Linked DNA regions of Homo sapiens: region 2 is linked to region 1. The links are contacts of gene promoters, found by promoter capture Hi-C in human tissues and cell types (Jung and others, 2019). All regions are on one chromosome and are shown on one strand. Each heading gives the region's core, a stretch centred on a gene start or on the middle of the fragment in contact. The rest is flanking DNA. Distances are from core to core; before and after follow the strand shown. Region 1 holds the start of PAFAH2 (platelet activating factor acetylhydrolase 2). Region 2 has its middle 4.8 kb from the start of RHCE.

Evidence for each region. Contacts are between HindIII fragments. The study calls those that stand out against the background at their distance.
Region 2: a fragment that was not itself captured here is called in contact with the fragment with the promoter of PAFAH2 in region 1 in 1 of the 25 tissues and cell types used here (aorta).

The regions. Positions count from the first base shown.
Region 1 is chr1:25,994,375-25,999,668 of GRCh38, forward strand. It overlaps PAFAH2 (platelet activating factor acetylhydrolase 2), which reads right to left and starts at 3,689. Exons shown (of 11, transcript NM_000437.4): 1 at 3,651-3,689. RefSeq lists enhancers at 3,435-3,514, 3,685-3,774, 3,785-3,834. The HindIII fragment of the contact is 6,472 bases long and covers 1,374-5,294 here.
Region 2 is chr1:25,423,037-25,428,124 of GRCh38, forward strand. It overlaps a transcript of RHCE not described here. Among named protein-coding and RNA genes, the nearest start is that of RHCE, 4.8 kb to the left of the region's middle. The HindIII fragment of the contact is 4,210 bases long and covers 1,329-5,088 here.

The DNA.
Region 1 (5,294 bases), core at 2,439-4,938:
CCTGCCTTAGCCTCCCAAGGTGCTTGGGATTACTGGAGTGAGCCACCGTGCCAGCCCTGCCTAGCTTTCTTATCTTATGCAAGTTATCTGATCTCTCTAAGCTTGATTCCCCATCTGTACAATGGGAACACTATCCATCCTCACAGGGTTGCTGTGGAAATAAAATGAAATAATGCATTCAAAGCATCTGGTGTGGTACCTGACTCTTAGGAAGCATCCAAGAAATGTGCTGATTGAGTGAAAAGTAGAAACACTAGGGTTTGGCCACTGAGTGAATCTGGGGAGTCAAGAGCCAATAAGTCAGGTTTTAAGATTGGGGAACCAGGACAATAGTCCTTAAGCTTCTTATGGGAACAGATTTTTGTCTCACTCTGCATAGAGAACAGCACTTGGGATAGGAATCAGGATAAGCGGACTTGGAAATGGCCAAACAGAAGACAGCAGAACTCTCTGGTGCTCCTGGAAAGTTTCTGGGAAGATCATCAACTAAATTGTTTGGAAATAAAAATTACAGAAGCTAATTGGCCAGAGTGAAGCTAACACGCAAATGAATCTTTATTTCCTGGACTCACATTGACTGATGTCCAAATAGGATGGAGAGATGGAAAAATCCAATCTGAGTTGCAAATTTTGCCAAAGAGACATTTACACAAAGCATCCAGAGTCATTTCTAATAAAAGTCATGGAATTTTCCAAGGAAATCAGTCTATGTGTCTCTACCTTCTTTTGCTCACTTTGTCTAAATAGTTCATGGTAGTACCTGTCCAGAAGCCTCTCCATCCACTGAGGCCCAGTGAAATCTCTAGTCCTCTGTGAAGCTTTCCCAGGTCCTTCCAACCTTTCCTCCTATCATCTCTGATCACTGTCCACATCCATTATCTGGTAACCAATCTTAGACTACTTTAGGGCAGCTCTTGGATTAACACCTATTCTAGCAGTTTTCAACCAGTGACTTGCCTGCAACAGTGGTCCATAGAGAATCTAGATCTTAGGTTCCTGAACCTATTGTCACAATCACCTGGGAAGCTTTTCAAAAATGTATATTCTGGGGGCCCCTATTTCTAGTGATCAATTCGTTTGTAAAAGCTTCCCAGGTGTTTCTGATCAGCAAAGTTTGAGAACCTCTGGTCTAGACTTTGATTAGAAATGTCTCTGGATGAACTTTTCTTTCATTCAGACACGTATGCATGCAGCAGACGCTTACTGAGTATATACTGTGTTCTGGTCCACATTTTCACGACTACGATTTCACTTGCTATAATCCCCATGGCCACCCAGAAGCATGTTCCTATCACTAGACTTAATGTAGTGCCCTGCATATAGCTGGTCTCAATAATTAATTTATCCAATGAATACTATTTAATTTTTGGCACACTTATGCCTCATCTCTTCAGATCTACTCCGGGGGTAAAGATTGGGTTTTATATTTTTTTGTAGACCAAACTGTCTATCTGCATGCTTTCCCCATATAGTTGGGACTCAATAAATGTTCCTTCATTTGGCTATGATTTAAACCCATCTCAAGTCTTCTTTAATCTTTGTTTTTGATCTAAAAATAAGGCTATATGAAATAATGGGGGACAAAGGTTTTGATGACTCTGAATTCTACCCCTGTCACTTATTAGCTGTGTGATCTTGAACAAGTTCCTCAAACTCTAAGCTTCTGATAATTTATTCTCACAACAGAAATAATAACTATGGCCAGACGCAGTGGCTCATGCCTATAATCCCAGAACTTTGGGAGATCAAATGGGAAGGATTGCTTCAGCCCAGGAGTTCAAGACCAGCCTGGGCAACATGGCAAAATCCTGTCTCTATAAAAAAATTAAAAAAAAAAAAAATTAGCTGGATGTGGTGGTATGCAACTGCAGTCCCAGTTACTCAGGAGGCTGAGGTAGGAGGATTGCTGGGGCTTGGGAGCCGGAGGCCACAGTGAACCAAGATTGTGCCACTGCACTTCGGCCTGGGTGACAGAGCGAGGTCTTGTCTCAAAAAGAAATAGTAACTATGGGCCGGGCGCGGTGGGAGGCCGAGGCGGGCGGATCAGGAGGTCAGGAGATCGAGACCATCCTGGCTAACACGGTGAAACCCTGTCTGTACTAAAAAAAATACAAAATATTAGCTGGGCCTGGTGGCGGGCGCCTGTAGTCCCAGCTACTTGGGAGGCTGAAGCAGGAGAATGGCGTGAACCCGGGAGGCGGAGCTTGCAGTGAGCCGAGATCGCGCTACTGCACTCTAGCCTGGGCGACAGAGCGAGACTCCATCTCAAAAAAAAAGAAATAGTAACTACTCACGAGATTGTTGATGAGGATTAAATAATGCATGTAAAGCACTCGATGGATAGAAGGTACTATAACCATAGGAGGCAACTATAATTATTTTAACTACATGCCTCTCAAGTTCCTTATACGTAAAATGGATACTTCGTAAGTGAAAATATTGCCTAGGGCCTGGTGCATTTTCAGTGCTTATAAAATGTTAGGAACTAATTAACAATGCTATGTCTCTCTTTCCTAGCCAAGGTCTCTCATTTTTCCTGGATTAAGCCCTTTGGCAAAACAGATTCTTTCCCAGCAGCCTTTTCAGGCCTCAGACACCCCTACCAAAGCCAGTGTCTACTGAACAGGCCCAGAGGAGCCCAGAGGGAATGGATGGGGCTTAGGTTGCAGCTGTCCTCTCCTGCTGGGACCCTGTTTCTGGTGAGCAGAGGACTGCTGCTCTGCCAGCTGTGTGACACTTTCATCACTGGCTATTTCAAGATACAGTCCAAGATAAGCACTTCTCTTGTGCTTCCTTTCAGACAAAGCTCTCTGAAGACTAAAAGCTCATTGGCCTGACCTTTGGTCTCTGGAGGAAGTGAGGAAATATCATCCAGCTCGTAGACAATGAAGACACCAAGCACTCGAGGGATGAGATTGAGCAACAAGGTGGCAGAGCTAGAGAAGAGGCCTGATAAGAGTGTTCCAGAGCATTAATAATTGTGATAAAAATAATCTCTGTCTCTTGTGAAGGTCTTACAGTTTACAAGGCATCTTCACACATACTAGCTTGTTGGCTCCTCAACACTCCTCACCTGAGACTGATGGAGCAACAGTCATCTCCGTTTTAGAGAGGAAGAAACTGAGTCCCAGAGTTGTATGATTTGCCCAAGGTCACAGAGGGTGAGAGGCAGAGCTGGCCTAGAACCGGGTCTGCTGACTTCGAGTCCAGGGTAATCGCGGATCGGAAAGAAGGAATGGGGACCCTTCTTCCACCGCCATGAAAAACAGAAAACTGAGAGTAAGAGTAAAGTACACAAAGGGTGGAGGAGCATAAAGAAGCCCGGGGTTCAGGGATGTGAGGCTGCAGGGTGAAGGTAGGGCCGAGGAATCAGGGTAGGGCTGTGGGGTCCAAGGTGGGGCTGCGGGGGCTGGGTCCTGGGACGGGAGCTCAGTGGGGATTCCAGGGGCACTGGCCGTTAAAAGTGCGAGGCGACCGTGGGAGGGTCAAGGGAGCGGGTGGCTACAGGTGTCTGAATAGGAAACGTAAAGGACGAAGATTAATGTGCAATTCCTATGACTGAGAGACGCCGAGGCCCCAAACCGGGCCAGAATACAAAAGTCTGCAGGAAGCTCAATTGAGATATAGGTGTTTTCTCCAATCAAACTTACCCAGTCAAGCTGATTCCTCAGAAGCAGCCCCAGACGTTTAACTCGACGGAAATGAGAAACGACCCATGAACCCGTGGCCCTTTGGTCGTCGTAGTTTCCAAGGCTCAAAATGGACGCTTGGAAGCACTTCTCGTTCCTCAATCTAGAACTACAATTCCCGATGTACAGTGCGCGAGATTGCGCATTACAACTCTAAAACTACACCTCCCAGAGTTCTACGCGACCGTCCAGCCCCGCGTGGTCGTGCGAAACCGCCCAAGGCCTGGGATGCGGTGTGATTCCTCCCCCTGGTGGCCTGAAGAGGTGCCGCCGCGATTTCTGCTCTCGAGCGGAGGGTTTTGCCTTAGTCCCGTGCGTAACCCTCCGCCTCACCCTCCTCAAATAGTCCTCAGGCGTGCCTAGAAATGGTCCCCGCTTCGCTTTATTCTCAAGGAGGTGGGAGGAGGTTGGAGTTTGTTTTGTGTCTTCTGCACACTTTGCTTCCTGTAAGAATAATAGACTGATCATTCAAATTAAGGGGACATTCCCTACCAGCCTGCATCTGTTGACACCTGTGATTTTCCATTGTCCTCAAAAGACTCCCTGGCAGAGAAAGGGGAGGAACCCGAGTAATCTGCTGGGCCGCATCCATCCCACATTACTGTCTAATGCTGGTTCTTAGCGACACTGATGGACAAGATACCGCTCCTAGCCTCAACAGAATCACAGTCTAGCAGAGAATTCAGACAAATGAATAATGACAGCACAGAGCCGTGATCTCATGGGGAGACACAGCAAGCGTGGGAGCCTTGAAAAGGGGCCTCTGGCCAGGCTTGGGGGAAAAGGGCGGTGTCCGCAAGGCTTTTTAGAGGGAGTGATGTTTGTTAACATTGAGACCCGATATAAGGAAAGAACGTAGCCAGGAGTACAGAGACTGTGAAGGACGTTTCAGAGTATGGCATTAAGTTCAGTGCTGGCTGCAGCTAAGTGTGAGGGATGGAAGGAGAGTATTCTCGGGGGAGTGGGCGTTAGGCAGAGCCCATCCTCAGGAGTTCTGTAAACTTCTATAGGAAATTTGGATCGTTCAGGCAGCTCAAAAACGTTCAACGGCCCTCTACTACCTATGAAGTGAAGTCCCAACTGCTTAGCCTGACATTCAAGGTCTTCTCCAACCTGCACTCCCCCACGCCCCACCCCCCACCCTTCAGCGCCCCTCCTCTGGGAGCTTTGTTCATGCCTCCAAAGTTTCCGCCGACATCTGTGTGTGCCTCGCACATGTGAGTCGACTCACACTGCCTTGGGTATCTCCTGTATTAGAGGTCTTAACTCTTGACACATTGTGAGCTCTTTGAGGTCAGGTACTGAGTCCTGCAGTCGCCCCCTCCACCCTACTCTTGCAGCCCACATCCCCCCGAAACACCAGGGTCCAGAGTCCCTGCTTTAGGCTCTCCTCTCCTGCCGACACACTGTTGTCACCCCCATCCTTCCAGGAGCCAAGATAAAGTCATCAGGAGAGAGTGCTGGCAGCCCTGCACTGTGGTAATTAAGCCTCGGATCTCATTAAATCTGTGGCTGATGGCGGTGGCCACAGAACCTGAAAAGCTTAGCGCAGATCAGAGAGCGGCTCCCTTTGGCCCATTAATCCGTGCTGTGCAGCTGGCCAGA
Region 2 (5,088 bases), core at 2,184-4,683, 570 kb before region 1:
AGCCTAGATTACTTCTAAGTCTTCTTCCAATTCTAAAAGTCTAGGAACATGGGCTTCTAAGCCCTCTGCTACCCCAACAGCAATTAAGGGGGAGGGTACCCCAATCCCCAGAGGTCAGAAGTCTCCATTCCTCTCACAATTGCCTCCTGGTTCTGATCTCTGCTCTATTTCTGGCAGTCAGTACTTCTTATAAACTGGGTTTCCTGAGAAGGAACTCCCCTGCACAGTGGGATAAAGGGATGTGACCCCTGCTAACCTGGGCCCAGTACAAGCTCTGTAAACCAGGCAGCCAACTGCACCTACCTACCCGAGGGCACCAGATGTCAGCAAGATGAACACTAAAGATTTCCAGGCAATGCCAACCCCTAGACCTGACAGGCATGTTTACCAGCTGGCAAACAGCGTGGGTGGTGGTTGGTTCCAAGGCACTCCAAATCCCTGTGCGTCCTGATCCTGCCCCAGTAAGGAAGCAGCAGGGACTGACTGCTTGACAAGAGGATCCCGCTCCTCGCAGAACAGAAATGCTTTCATTAAAAAAGGGAGGTATCCCTGCAGTTGGCCTCTCCCGACAGATTTCTCGAAAGCAGAGTTTTTGCTCTTCCCCTCTGACTCTTATAAAAGGCCCCATTTTCTGACTACATTTCCCGATATTCTGTCTTTAAATCTTCAAGGCAGGTCACCTGCTACAGAAAGCACAAGGGATCTAGGATAGATAAGTCAAAAACCAAATACAGTAAAATGTTAATTGTTGATTCTAGCTGTGAGATGTATGGCTTTTCACCGTACAAGTCTTTCAACTTTTTTTGGTAGATGTTTGAAATTTTTCATAATAAAATGCTGGGAAAAAAGCACTCTATTGCACCTGCTGTTCTCTCTGTCTGAAACACTCCTCCTACCAGATACAGATGGCCTCCGACGTACGGTGGTTTGACTTAACGCTTTTCAACTTTATGATGGCGCGAAAGCAACACACATGCAGTGGAAGCCGTGCTTAGAGTTCCCATCCCACCACTCCGTCTTTCACTTTCCGTACAGTACTCAGTACATTACATGAGATATTCAATACTTTATCATAAAATAGGCTTTGTGTTAGATGATTTTGCCCAACCGTAGGCTAATGTAAGCGTTCTAAGCATGTTTAAGGTAGGTGACACTAAGCTATGATGTTCCGTAGGTTAGGTGTATTAAATGCATTTTTGACTTACAATATTTCCTACTTACCATGGCTTTATCAGGACATAACCTCATCGAAAGTCAAGGAACAACTGTACTGGCTTGCTCCCCACCTCACCTCCCTGGATCTGTACTCCACCATCCCCTTCTCAGGGAAGTTTTCCCTGACTGCCCTTTTTTGCTGTGTTTTTTTTTTAGATGAAGTTTTGCTCTTGTTGCCCAGGCTGGACTGCAATGGCACAATCTCGGCTCACTGCAACCTCCGCCTCCCAGGTTCAAGCGATTCTCCCGCCTCAGCCTCCCGAGTAGCTGGGATTATAGGCACGCGATACCACACCTGGCTAGTTTTTGTAGTTTTAGTAGAGACAGGGTTTCACCACATTGGCCTGGCTGGTCTTGAACTCCTGACCTCAAGTGATCCACCTGCCTCGAACTCCCAAAGTGCTGGGATTATAAGTGTGAGCCACTGTGCCTGGCCTCTGATTGCCCTATTTAAAAGGACAGCATCAACTCCCCTTTCTGCTCCCCTTGACAAGGGTTCCTTGTGTTCCCCTTTTAGTTTCCTTCACAGCACTTACTAGCATCTGACGAAGTCTATATTTTTACTTGTGTATTTAGGTTTTTTTTTTAGATGGAGTACTCTGTCACCCAGGCTGGAATGCAGTGGCACGATCTTGGCTCATTGCAACTTCTGCCTTTTAGGTTCAAGCGATTCTCCTTCCTCAGCCTCCCAAGTAGCTGGGACTACAGGCATGAGCCACCACACTGCGCTAATTTTTGTATTTTTAGTAGTGACAGGGTTTCACCATGTTGGCTAGGCTGGTCTCGAACTCCTGACCTCAGGTGACTTGCCCACCTTGGCCTCGCAAAGTACTGGGATTACAGGCGTGAGCCACTGCGTCTGGCCGTGTATTTGTTCATTATCTGCTTTCCCCTATGAGAATCTGAGCAACATAAAGACAGGGACTTTTGACTGCTGTGGTTGCTGTTGTATCCTCAGCACCAGGGAAGTCCATAGTAGGTGCTCAATAAATATTTGTTGGCTGAATAACAGCTACCATTTCTGGAATGCCAAGCACGGAACCAATCATTTTGCATATGCTATTTCATCGGATCTTCCTCTCAAGCCTGTGAGTGTAGGCATCATTACGCTTACAAAAGAGGAAACTGCTGCTCAGAGAGGTGGCGTGAGTACCCAAAGCCACACAGCTAATAAACGGCAGAGGTGGGACCTAACCCAGATCCATCTGACACCATGGCTTGTGTTGCTAATCACTTTGCAATTCTGCCTCCCAAGTTACTAAATCACCCAGTCTCAATTTCCTTATGAGTCAAGTAAGATGTACTCTGGTCTCCTCACAGGGTTATTACAAACGTGAAAATTTGTCAGCAGGCCTGGCAGCCTGAGTTACGGAAATGAAGCTGAGCAAGTGGTGCTATGTCCACGGCGTGCTGGTCTGAGCAGCCAGGCTTCCTGCAGGTGTGGTGAATCAAGCCAGGGAGCCCACAGCTTTCACGTGTAATCATGACTTTTCTGTAAACACCAGACTCCCTGAGAATACCTGCCATGCCCTCCTACCTGAGTCAAGCTCAGTCACTGGCAGTGACCAATGAGGTAGGAGGTCCTCCGGTCCCTCCCTGGAAATGTGTCCACGCCAAGGGTGTGACCTTGCTCTGGGCACGTTTGGCTAAAGTGCAGCTAAGTCAGTCGTTCATTGATTTAACACACATGAGCTTTGGAGTTAGGCAACCTGGTTCAAATTCTGGCTTTGGAATGAGCTGTGTGACCTTGGGTAAAACAGTCAGTGTCTCTGTGCCTGTTTCCTCATCTGGAAAGGCAGAAAATCAGTGTCAATCTCACTGGGTTGTTGTGAAGATTCAACGAGGCAGTGCATAAAGTGTCAGATGTGTAGAAAACACTCCATAAATGTTAGCAATTATGATTATCACACAAGCTTGGCAAGTTTACTGTAGAAACTTTGAAAATACAGATGCATAAAGCTAACATAAAATGTCCATTTCAGTCTCTCCAAAAACCAGCACTATGTTTTGAGTGTATATCCTTTCAGATGTTTTTCTATTCCTGTCGATTTAGGCCTTGTTTTTCTCCCTACAAAAATGGGATTACACAGCACATACTGTTTGGTAACTTGCTATTTTCATGAACTCTATATCATAAGCAGTTTCCAAGCCAGGAAAATCTTTCTACAACAATATAACATGGTGGTTAAAGAGCCCAGGCACTGAAAGCAGACTGCCTGGATTTGAATTCCCAACTCTGTTACTATGTGACCTTAGGCAAGTGCCTTAACTCCTCTGTGCCACAGTGTCCTCATCTGTAATATGGTGCTAGTAATCTCTATCTCATAGGATTGTTGTGAGGATTAAAACAAAATGTATCTGATACTTGGAGTGGCGGCTGCCATAGTTAGTGCTGTGTATAATCATCCTCCATGCCACACTGACTTCCATGGTAAGGATATGTGATAAAGTGTTTGGTCAGTCCTCTCCCAAACTAGCCCTGTTCTAAACACTACAGTGAACATCTTCCATTAACATGGTTCTGGCCTGGTGTGGTGTCTCACGCCTGTAACCCCAGCACTTTGGGAGGCCAAGGCAGGTGGATCACCTAAGGTCAGGAGTTTGAGACCAGCCTGGCTAACATGGCAAAACCCCATTTCTACTAAAAACACAAAAATTATCCAGGCGTGGTGGCGTGTGCCTATAGTCTCAGCTACTCTGGAGGCTGAGGCAGGAGAATCACTTGAACCCAGGAGGCAGAGATTGCAGTGAGCTGAGAATGCACCACTGCACTCCAGCCTGGGTGACAGAGCAAGACTCCATCTCAAAAAAAAAAAAAATAGGTTTCTCTAGGGGATACAGGTACATGTGTTAAGAGGTGGCCATCGAAATGTTTGGACTTTTCTGTGATTCTTACAGGGCAGGAACAAAGCTCAAGACAGCTAGTGGGCTTGCGGGGATTGAACGGGCTGACAGAGGTGGGAATACCATTTCCTTATATGTGAAACAGGGTTTAATGATCTGGCCTCTAGAGCTGTTCTGGGCTCAGCTGAAGCCCAAGTGCAAATCCCTTCATCAGAAAGTCCCAGAAGGAGGGACAAGCCTAAATTCCTCTGTAGGCCTTGGTCTTTTGAATGAGGGCAAATTACTTCCCTTCCTTGTTTCACTCATTTGTAAAATGGCCACTGCTGATCTCTGCTTCCTGACTGGTGAAGGTGTGGGGAGCTGGGGCCTTCTGGCAGGAGGCCCACTTCTGTGCCCTTAGAATCCCAAAGGGCCATTTCAGGACTCAGAGGAAAAAGGCTGGCACTTGGCTGGAGCCAAAAGGGCTTGTGCTAGAGTGGGTCATGGAAAAAAGAGCTGGGTCTGGAGGAGTGAAAGAGGAAGAGTATGGAGATGGGCAGTCCTGCTCTGGCCTCTCCTTGGGTCTTGGCAAGAAGGCCATTCCCATCATCTCACCCCAACTCTACCCATCAATAGCTATATACAGGCACCACAGCTTGCTCAGCTTGTGCTTTGAGCTAGATTGCTCTACCACACCTATTATGTGACCTTGTTTCCTCTCAGCCTCAGTTTTCTCATTTGTAAAATGGAGCTAGCACAATCTGCTTCTAAACATAGAACTAGAAGCACCACCTCCAGAGGAGATCTTGGCACAGGGTGGGCTGGTGACTCAACCAAGGACACTAGTGAGTTGCCATGTGAATTGGGATTGGAACTTAGACCTCCAGACCTTCAGATTGTTTGTCAGCCATCACCCTCAGATTTTCTCTGCCCTTTCTCTGCTTCCACATAGTCCTAGAGCTCAACAGTAACTCTCAGCCACAACCTCCATTGCTCCCAGCCACTCCGCACTTTTGCCACAGCATGAGATGCCCTGTCAGGGTCTATTTA